Linked DNA regions of Homo sapiens: region 2 is linked to region 1. Evidence: promoter capture Hi-C in 16 types of primary human blood cells and fetal thymus (Javierre and others, 2016). All regions are on one chromosome and are shown on one strand. The core of a region is centred on a gene start or on the middle of the fragment in contact, and the rest is flanking DNA. Distances in the headings are between cores, read along the strand shown. Region 1 holds the start of PAX7 (paired box 7). Region 2 overlaps ARHGEF10L (Rho guanine nucleotide exchange factor 10 like).

The links. Contacts are between HindIII fragments. The CHiCAGO score rates a contact against its expected background, and 5 or more counts as called.
Region 2: a fragment that was not itself captured here is called in contact with the fragment with the promoter of PAX7 in region 1 in 1 of 17 cell types (endothelial precursors); the score reaches 5.1 in endothelial precursors.

Annotation. Positions count from the first base shown.
Region 1 is chr1:18,628,995-18,632,475 of GRCh38, forward strand. It overlaps PAX7 (paired box 7), which reads left to right and starts at 1,852. Exons shown (of 9, transcript NM_001135254.2): 1 at 1,852-2,694. The coding sequence starts at 2,610. RefSeq lists promoters at 1,536-2,321, 1,725-2,635, 2,359-2,635 and enhancers at 3,175-3,481, 3,183-3,481. The HindIII fragment of the contact is 4,552 bases long and covers 340-3,481 here.
Region 2 is chr1:17,545,629-17,548,797 of GRCh38, forward strand. All of the region lies in intron 1 of ARHGEF10L (Rho guanine nucleotide exchange factor 10 like), which reads left to right. Among named protein-coding and RNA genes, the nearest start is that of ARHGEF10L, 7.5 kb to the left of the region's middle. RefSeq lists an enhancer at 1,425-2,069. The HindIII fragment of the contact is 1,929 bases long and covers 565-2,493 here.

The sequences.
Region 1 (3,481 bases), core at 602-3,101:
ACAAAACCCACCTGCACCTTGACACACAGACCCGGGCACAGGCCTATATTCACACGCAAGCACACTGGCCCATTCCACAAATACAGGGAAGAAGTGCCTTGAAACCTTCCAGGCAGAGGACAGCTAGTGACGAATGAATGGATGAATATGCAATATACCTAATATATATGTGTGTGTGTTATACGTGTGTATGCATAAGTGTATATGATACAAATACATGTATATATACACACAGAGAATATATATCCACCTATGGAGGTCAAAGCAGGCCAGGTCCCCAGCAAGGCTGGTGATGTAAGGGGGTTGCTGTCTTCCCTGGGCACACATGCTATGGCTTAAAGCTTGATCTCCCAATCTCTCCCGGGGGAGGGCCCCATAACTTGGGCCAGGCAAAGTACCCCGGTGTCCCCCTTCCAATTCGAAAGCTACTTGGCATCTGTCTTCTCAGTTAGAGAGAGTATGAGCTCAACAAGTTTTTCATCAGGGCCCCCATTCCCAGAAGGCCCCCCCAAAATCTGATGAGCCCCTTGTGCTAGGAGAGTGGGGAGAGGAGGGAGATCTGTCACATGCTGCAAGGGGCAAAGGTCACAGGTGAGGCGAAGGGGAGGGATGGGGACACCCTGGGGCCAGCCAGCGGTGAGCGCCCCAGGCTAAGACAAGGCTGACCCCACTGCCGAGAGAGGGCGGGCAGGGGGTGAGATTGAGGGCTGGGTTCATTTTATTGTATTTTGCCTCCAGCGTGGGGCCAGAGACGCTCTTTCCCCCGGGAGACAAAAGGCCTGCAGTTGTGGCGTCCTGCCCCGCTGGGAGGGCGTTTCGCCCCCAGGACTCGGTGTCCCGAGGTTGAGGCTACTGGTCACCCTGGCTTCAGAAAGCGAAGAATTCAGGAACCTCTGATCACCCCACCCTGACTCCTGATCATTCAGTTGGGGCGTCCCCTCAAACCCACCAGCAAGGAGCTCAGAGTTGGTGAGTTCAGAGCTGTATCAAGTCTTGACGGGCTCCCTCCCTCCCATTTCCCACCTCTTTGGGCCCCCAGATCCTCACACCAGCACCAACTCCCTGTAAACCCAACTACCTGCTGGAAAGGAGTTATAGGCCCGGCCTGGGGGCCTGAGGAGGACGGCGGCGGCTGGAGACGTCTGCACGGGGCGGAACTGGAAGGGGAGGAAGAAACCTGTGCCTAGCACTTGGCAGACCCACTTTGCCAAGCCTCGGAACCAGATACGGTTACTGGGGGCTTCTCAGAGCGGCAGGAAGGTAGAGTAAGAACCGGACACCGGGGCTCTGACATTACACAGAAAAGGTCAGAATTCCTCCCTTCAAGTCACCCTAGGCCGGTTCCCGGGGAGCCTCACTGGAGGAATTTCAGAGGGTGTAAGACGAGGGAGAAGATGAGAAATAGGGCGGACTCTGGCCCTCGGAGGCCAGAGAAAAGGCGAGACTCCAGAGAGGCGCCGGACCCGAGGCAGACATTCCCATACAGCCGGGACTCCGAGAGCAGCCGTGGGCGACCTGGGGGCCGGGGACTCGGCGGATCCGGCCCATTCATCAAAGGAAGGCACTGGGACAAAGTTGGCCCCCTCCCCTTCTCCCCCAGCCCCCAACTCGCCGGGATCGGCTCCCTCTCTTTTCACGGCGGTTCAAATTCTCCCCCAAAACGAGGTCGAGCCGGGGATTAGAAAAGAGGGAAAAAAATATTCGTTGGCGATTTCTTTTCGTTATTGGTCCTCCGCTCCCTTGCGCCCTGGCCCCCTTCCCTCCTCATGAATAAAAGAAAAGTCCGAACCTATCAGATCGCGCTCACTGCCTCCTCCTCCTCCTCCTCCTCCTCCTCCTCGTACTTCGGTGAACACTTTTGCACAACTTACCCAGCTGATCACTCGCGCCCCCTCGCTTTTCCATTTCTCTTTCCCCAACCCCGTCACCCCCTGTCTCCTCCGTCCAGCCCTGAAACCCGAGGAGGCTCCTTCTTCCGTCTGTCCCCGGGTCTCCTAGGGGACGGGGCTGTGAAAGCTGGTGTGGAGGGAGAAGCGAGTGTGGTCCGGAGAAAGAAGGCGTGGAGAAGAGGGAGGGAGCGAGAGCGAGAGAATAAATATATAAATAAATACGAGAACGAAATCCACTCCGCAGTCTCCGGGCTCGGAAACTTTGGCCCCGAGCGCCAGAGCGCCAGAGCGCGAGAGCGCGGCGCTCGCCACTCTGAGGCTGGCGGCCTCGATTCCGGCCGCGTTCCCCCGGCCCCCCTCCGCCGCGGGGCCTGGTCTCCGGGTTCTGCCAGGCGCATCAGCCCGCACAACTTCTGGCCGAGGCCAGCCGGCAGAGGCGGACTTGGGGTTGGAGTGTTTGTTTGTTTGAACTTCCTCGTCGTCGCCACCTTCCCTCCCCCCAACCTCCACCCCACCTCACCCCCCTCCCCAGCTTCTGGACGCGTTTGACTGCAGCCAGGGGTGGGGGGTGGGGGTAGGGAGTGTGTGTGGAGGGGAGGGAGAAGAGGTTAAAAAAAAGAAGACGAAGAAGACGGAAAGAAAGAGATCGCAGCAGGGGTGAAGGGAGCGGACGGGAAGCGATTTTTGCCGACTTTGGATTCGTCCCCGGCGTGCGCAAGAATGGCGGCCCTTCCCGGCACGGTACCGAGAATGATGCGGCCGGCTCCGGGGCAGAACTACCCCCGCACGGGATTCCCTTTGGAAGGTAAGAACGCCCAGGCTGGCCTCGCCGCGACTCCGCCGCCCGGAACTCGGGGTCCTTGGAGAGGCTGCGGTCTCCAGGGGACGGTGGCGGCGCCGGCGATAGCAGAGGGATCCCGTTCTCTTCTGGGTCCCAGTCCGGGCGCGGAACCCAGGGAGTTTCTGGGACCCATACTTGTCCGCTTCTGCGTGGGTTTCACTGCCCGGCGGCCTTCGTTTCGCAGGTCGCTAGCTGCCGGTCTTTACCCGCAGGGCTGAAATTCTGGTAGATTTGGACTCCTAGTAAATATCAGGTCCTGGTGAATTTCAGCTCTTTCCACTATTTCCAGACACTTCTTCCCTGACAGTTTCTCGGCTCTCCTGGCTCGCTGGCTGCCAGCTTTCTACTCTTGTTTTGAATTATTTTTTCCACCCCCGGGATTGGTCTTCCAGTCCTTTATTTCGAACCACCTACCATGGGTGATACTTTATATGCCTCAACTACCACGGCTATCCATTTCTTCCGAAGCCACAGTCAAACACTCCTGCTTTTCCGCCTGGAAACAAACTAATTGGAAATAATAATTAGTAATGATTTTCCCCCTAAAACTTTTTACTCGGGCTTCCGCACTCTGGAAATCTCCCGGGAGAGAACCTCTAAACGGCGAGGTTTAGAGAACCTCTAAACGGCGAGAGGGGCACGGCAATGTCCAAACGAGAAGAAAGAGCTGATTTTGTAAAGCGTCCTTCCTAAACATCCAGCGCCCGCCCGGGGAGACCCGATAGGACGGGCGGCGGCGAACCGGGTCCTG
Region 2 (3,169 bases), core at 279-2,778, 1.1 Mb before region 1:
GGCTTGTGGAGTTGTGATGTCCAGGACATGGGTGGCTAGAGCTGACATAGGCAACAGTGGGCATGACCTGTCCATATGGATTCAGGACCTGCATGAGAGAGTAGAGGCAGACGGTTGCTCTTGTACATCCTGTGATCTCTGGTTGGAAGATGGACATGTGCACATGTTACATACAGTGGAGGGATGTGCGGAGTGTAGCAGGGGAATGGGGTAGGGAGAGGGGAACAATTCATGCCTCTGAACCTTTGCACATGCTGCTCCTTCTACCCAGGGGAGTTAATGTGTGTTTTCTCCACCCAGAAGGAATGGCATGTGCAAAGGCTCAGAGGCATGAATTATTGAGAGTTCAGTCTGGCTCTGGTGTCAGGTGAATCAAAAGTCTGCAGGGCTTGAAACAGAGTAGGGGAAGCATTGAACCTTCCTCAAGTCAGGAGGCACAGCATCATCTGGGTGCCAGCAAAGGAAATCTGACAAACCTCACCTGTCAGGGGCCTTGTGCTGTGTGGATCACCCTGCTTCCCTAAAAATCTTTGAGGTTTCTTGGTAGTTTCCTGCTGTCCCTGAAGCTTGCTGGTCTTCCAGCCCCTGCATCTGTGGCTGGTGGATTCTCAAAAAAAATCCATGTTAATATCAAGCACAAAACTTAATTGGGAAGAGGGGTCTCCTGTTCTCCCCCCATTGCTAATTGATACCAGAAAAGCTGCTTCTGTCCTTCATTTAGGCAGATAATTGAGAACTTGTTTGCTTAAAGGCAACTGATTTTGACTTTATGCCTATAGGTGCCAGATATTTTTCATGCATCAATTCATTTAATTTCCATGCCGATCCTGCAAGTACGTCCTATTTTCCGATCTTATCGATGAGGAAATTGAGTCTCAGAGACTTATCCAAGGGCACTGTGTTTGTAAGTGGCAGGATTTGAACCCGGCAGGCCCTGAGATCTTTCTGCAGTCCCGTGCTCCCCTCCTTTATGCGGTTTTCCTTTTCCCTTTGAGGAGGGGAGGGAGAGATTCATCACATGCCTGGAATCTCAGCACACTTTGCCTTTCTTAGTTCGGAGTTAATGTATGTTTTTTTAATTCAGTGTTGGCAAGGCCCAGTCTGGTCATAGCTGGGTTTGTTACCTTGTGGCTCAGGGGCAAGGATGAGAATAGAATTCTGGTACCCACACGGGCTCCCTAGGCCTGGTGTCAGGAAAGAGCTAATACTAATGGCTCATAATTGCAGAGTGGCAGGCACCTTGGTAGTGCATGGCTCGTGGGAGCTTTCTCAGTTCTCAGCTACTCCAAGAGGTGGGGTGCATCATTATCTCTGTTTTGCCTCCATTGAACTTGCCCAGGGTTGAGCAACCAAGAGTTAGAAGCACCACATTCTGCTCGCCCCGGAGTCCTGCCTCTCCACTCTTGTGTCTTTCCTTGAGCAGCGCCAACCCTCCCAGGGCCTGGCCCGGCTGTGCCTTTGACAGCCCCTAGCAGCAGTGCCCATATGCTATGGAAAATGGGGAAGGATAATTGACCACTTGGCCACAGGCCCAGGGTCTGCCCACCTCTTGGTTAGAGCCAGCACTGAGCTCCCTGCCATGGGGTTCATCTTCCCACTGGCCTGTTGGTTGAGAGGATGGTCTCAGACCAGGCCCCAACACCACCTTCTTGCAGATACATCCCCAGTCCAGGGCAGTGCAGGTGGTTTGTGATGGTGCCAGCCCATGTTGGCATGTTGGGCCCAAGATGAGGTGGCATTTCTGAGTTTTGGAACCCCTCTTTCTCCTTGAGAGCCTGGCCCCAGAGTGCCCTCCTCTCTGTAAAAGTCCTGGTTCTAGTCGCTGGCTGATTGGTATGCATCCCAGAATCCCGGCCATTAGCATACAAGGCGGGAGCCAGCTCTCATTACTCCCCTCTCTTCATTGTTTGAAGTGGGCAGACTTGGAGTGAGCTTTGGAAATGTGGGCTTTTTATTCAATTTCCCTAGAAAAACAATGGTTAAATTAAGTAGGAAAATAACAGTCTCCCGAAATTGAAGAAAAATATTCCTGAACCTAGACATTACCCACAACCTTTGAATTTCTTTTAAAACAGGCATTTGTTTTACTTTAAGTTATACATGTATCGCATGACCACTGAAGAAAACACAGAGAAAATACAGAGAGAAGAAAATGGAAATCATTTTGCCACCTGAAGACAGCCTCTCTCAATATTGTGGTGCATATCATTCATGTATTCAGTGATTCATTTACTCATTTGGCAAGTATCTATTTAGGGCCCACAAAGGGAGAGGCTGTGTTGGGTTCTGGGAGTAGACGCTGGGAGTAGAGGGGTACCCTGCTCCCTGCTGGGGCTCTTTCTATGTTGGGCCTTGGGCAACTCACTTGACCCTTCTCTTATCTGTTTTCTCATCTGTGGAATAGGGATAACACTAGTAGCTGTGTCATAAGGCATGGAGATTTGACAAGAAAGGGCAGGTAGGATGCTCATGATATTGCGTGGCCCAGGTCAAAGCTTAGTAATGTTGGCTTTTGTCATGTAGGGGAGGAATATCTTTTCTTCTACCCTGTTAGGTTCTGTGATAGAGCCTATGAATTAAACTGACAAAAGACAGATTAATAGGAGAAAAGGCATATAGATTTTATTTAATGTTACTATATATATGTATTTTTTTACTGTAAGGGGTCTCCATAGAAAAGAAATGAAAATCCAAAGAGGCAGTTAGACCCAGGAGCTTACGTAACATTTTAACAAAGGGCGATAAATTGTGGAGAAGTGAGGAGACAAAAGAAAAGTATTGGACTCTTAGGGGTCAGTAAATTTCAGGAAAGTGACTAGGAAATGTATGGTAGATAAGGGTGGTTTAGTAAGGTTTGTTATGCAGATAAAGTAAGGTAGAGGGGTACACCTTTGCAAATGGAAATTTATGTCACCTTTACAAAGGGAAATGTGTGCCCTGCTTTTAGGCAGAAAAGGGGAGGCAAAGAGCTCTTCCTGTATTGGCTGCTGCTCAAGTACCTTGAGCTCAAAATAATTCTTTTTTTTTTTTTTTTTTTTTTTTTGAGACAGCATCTTGCTCTGTTGCCCAGGCTGGAGTGCAATGGTCTTGGCTCACTGCATCCTCTGCCTCCTGGGTTCAAGCAATTCTCCAGCCTCAGCCTCCTGAGTAGATGGGATTACAGGTGCGC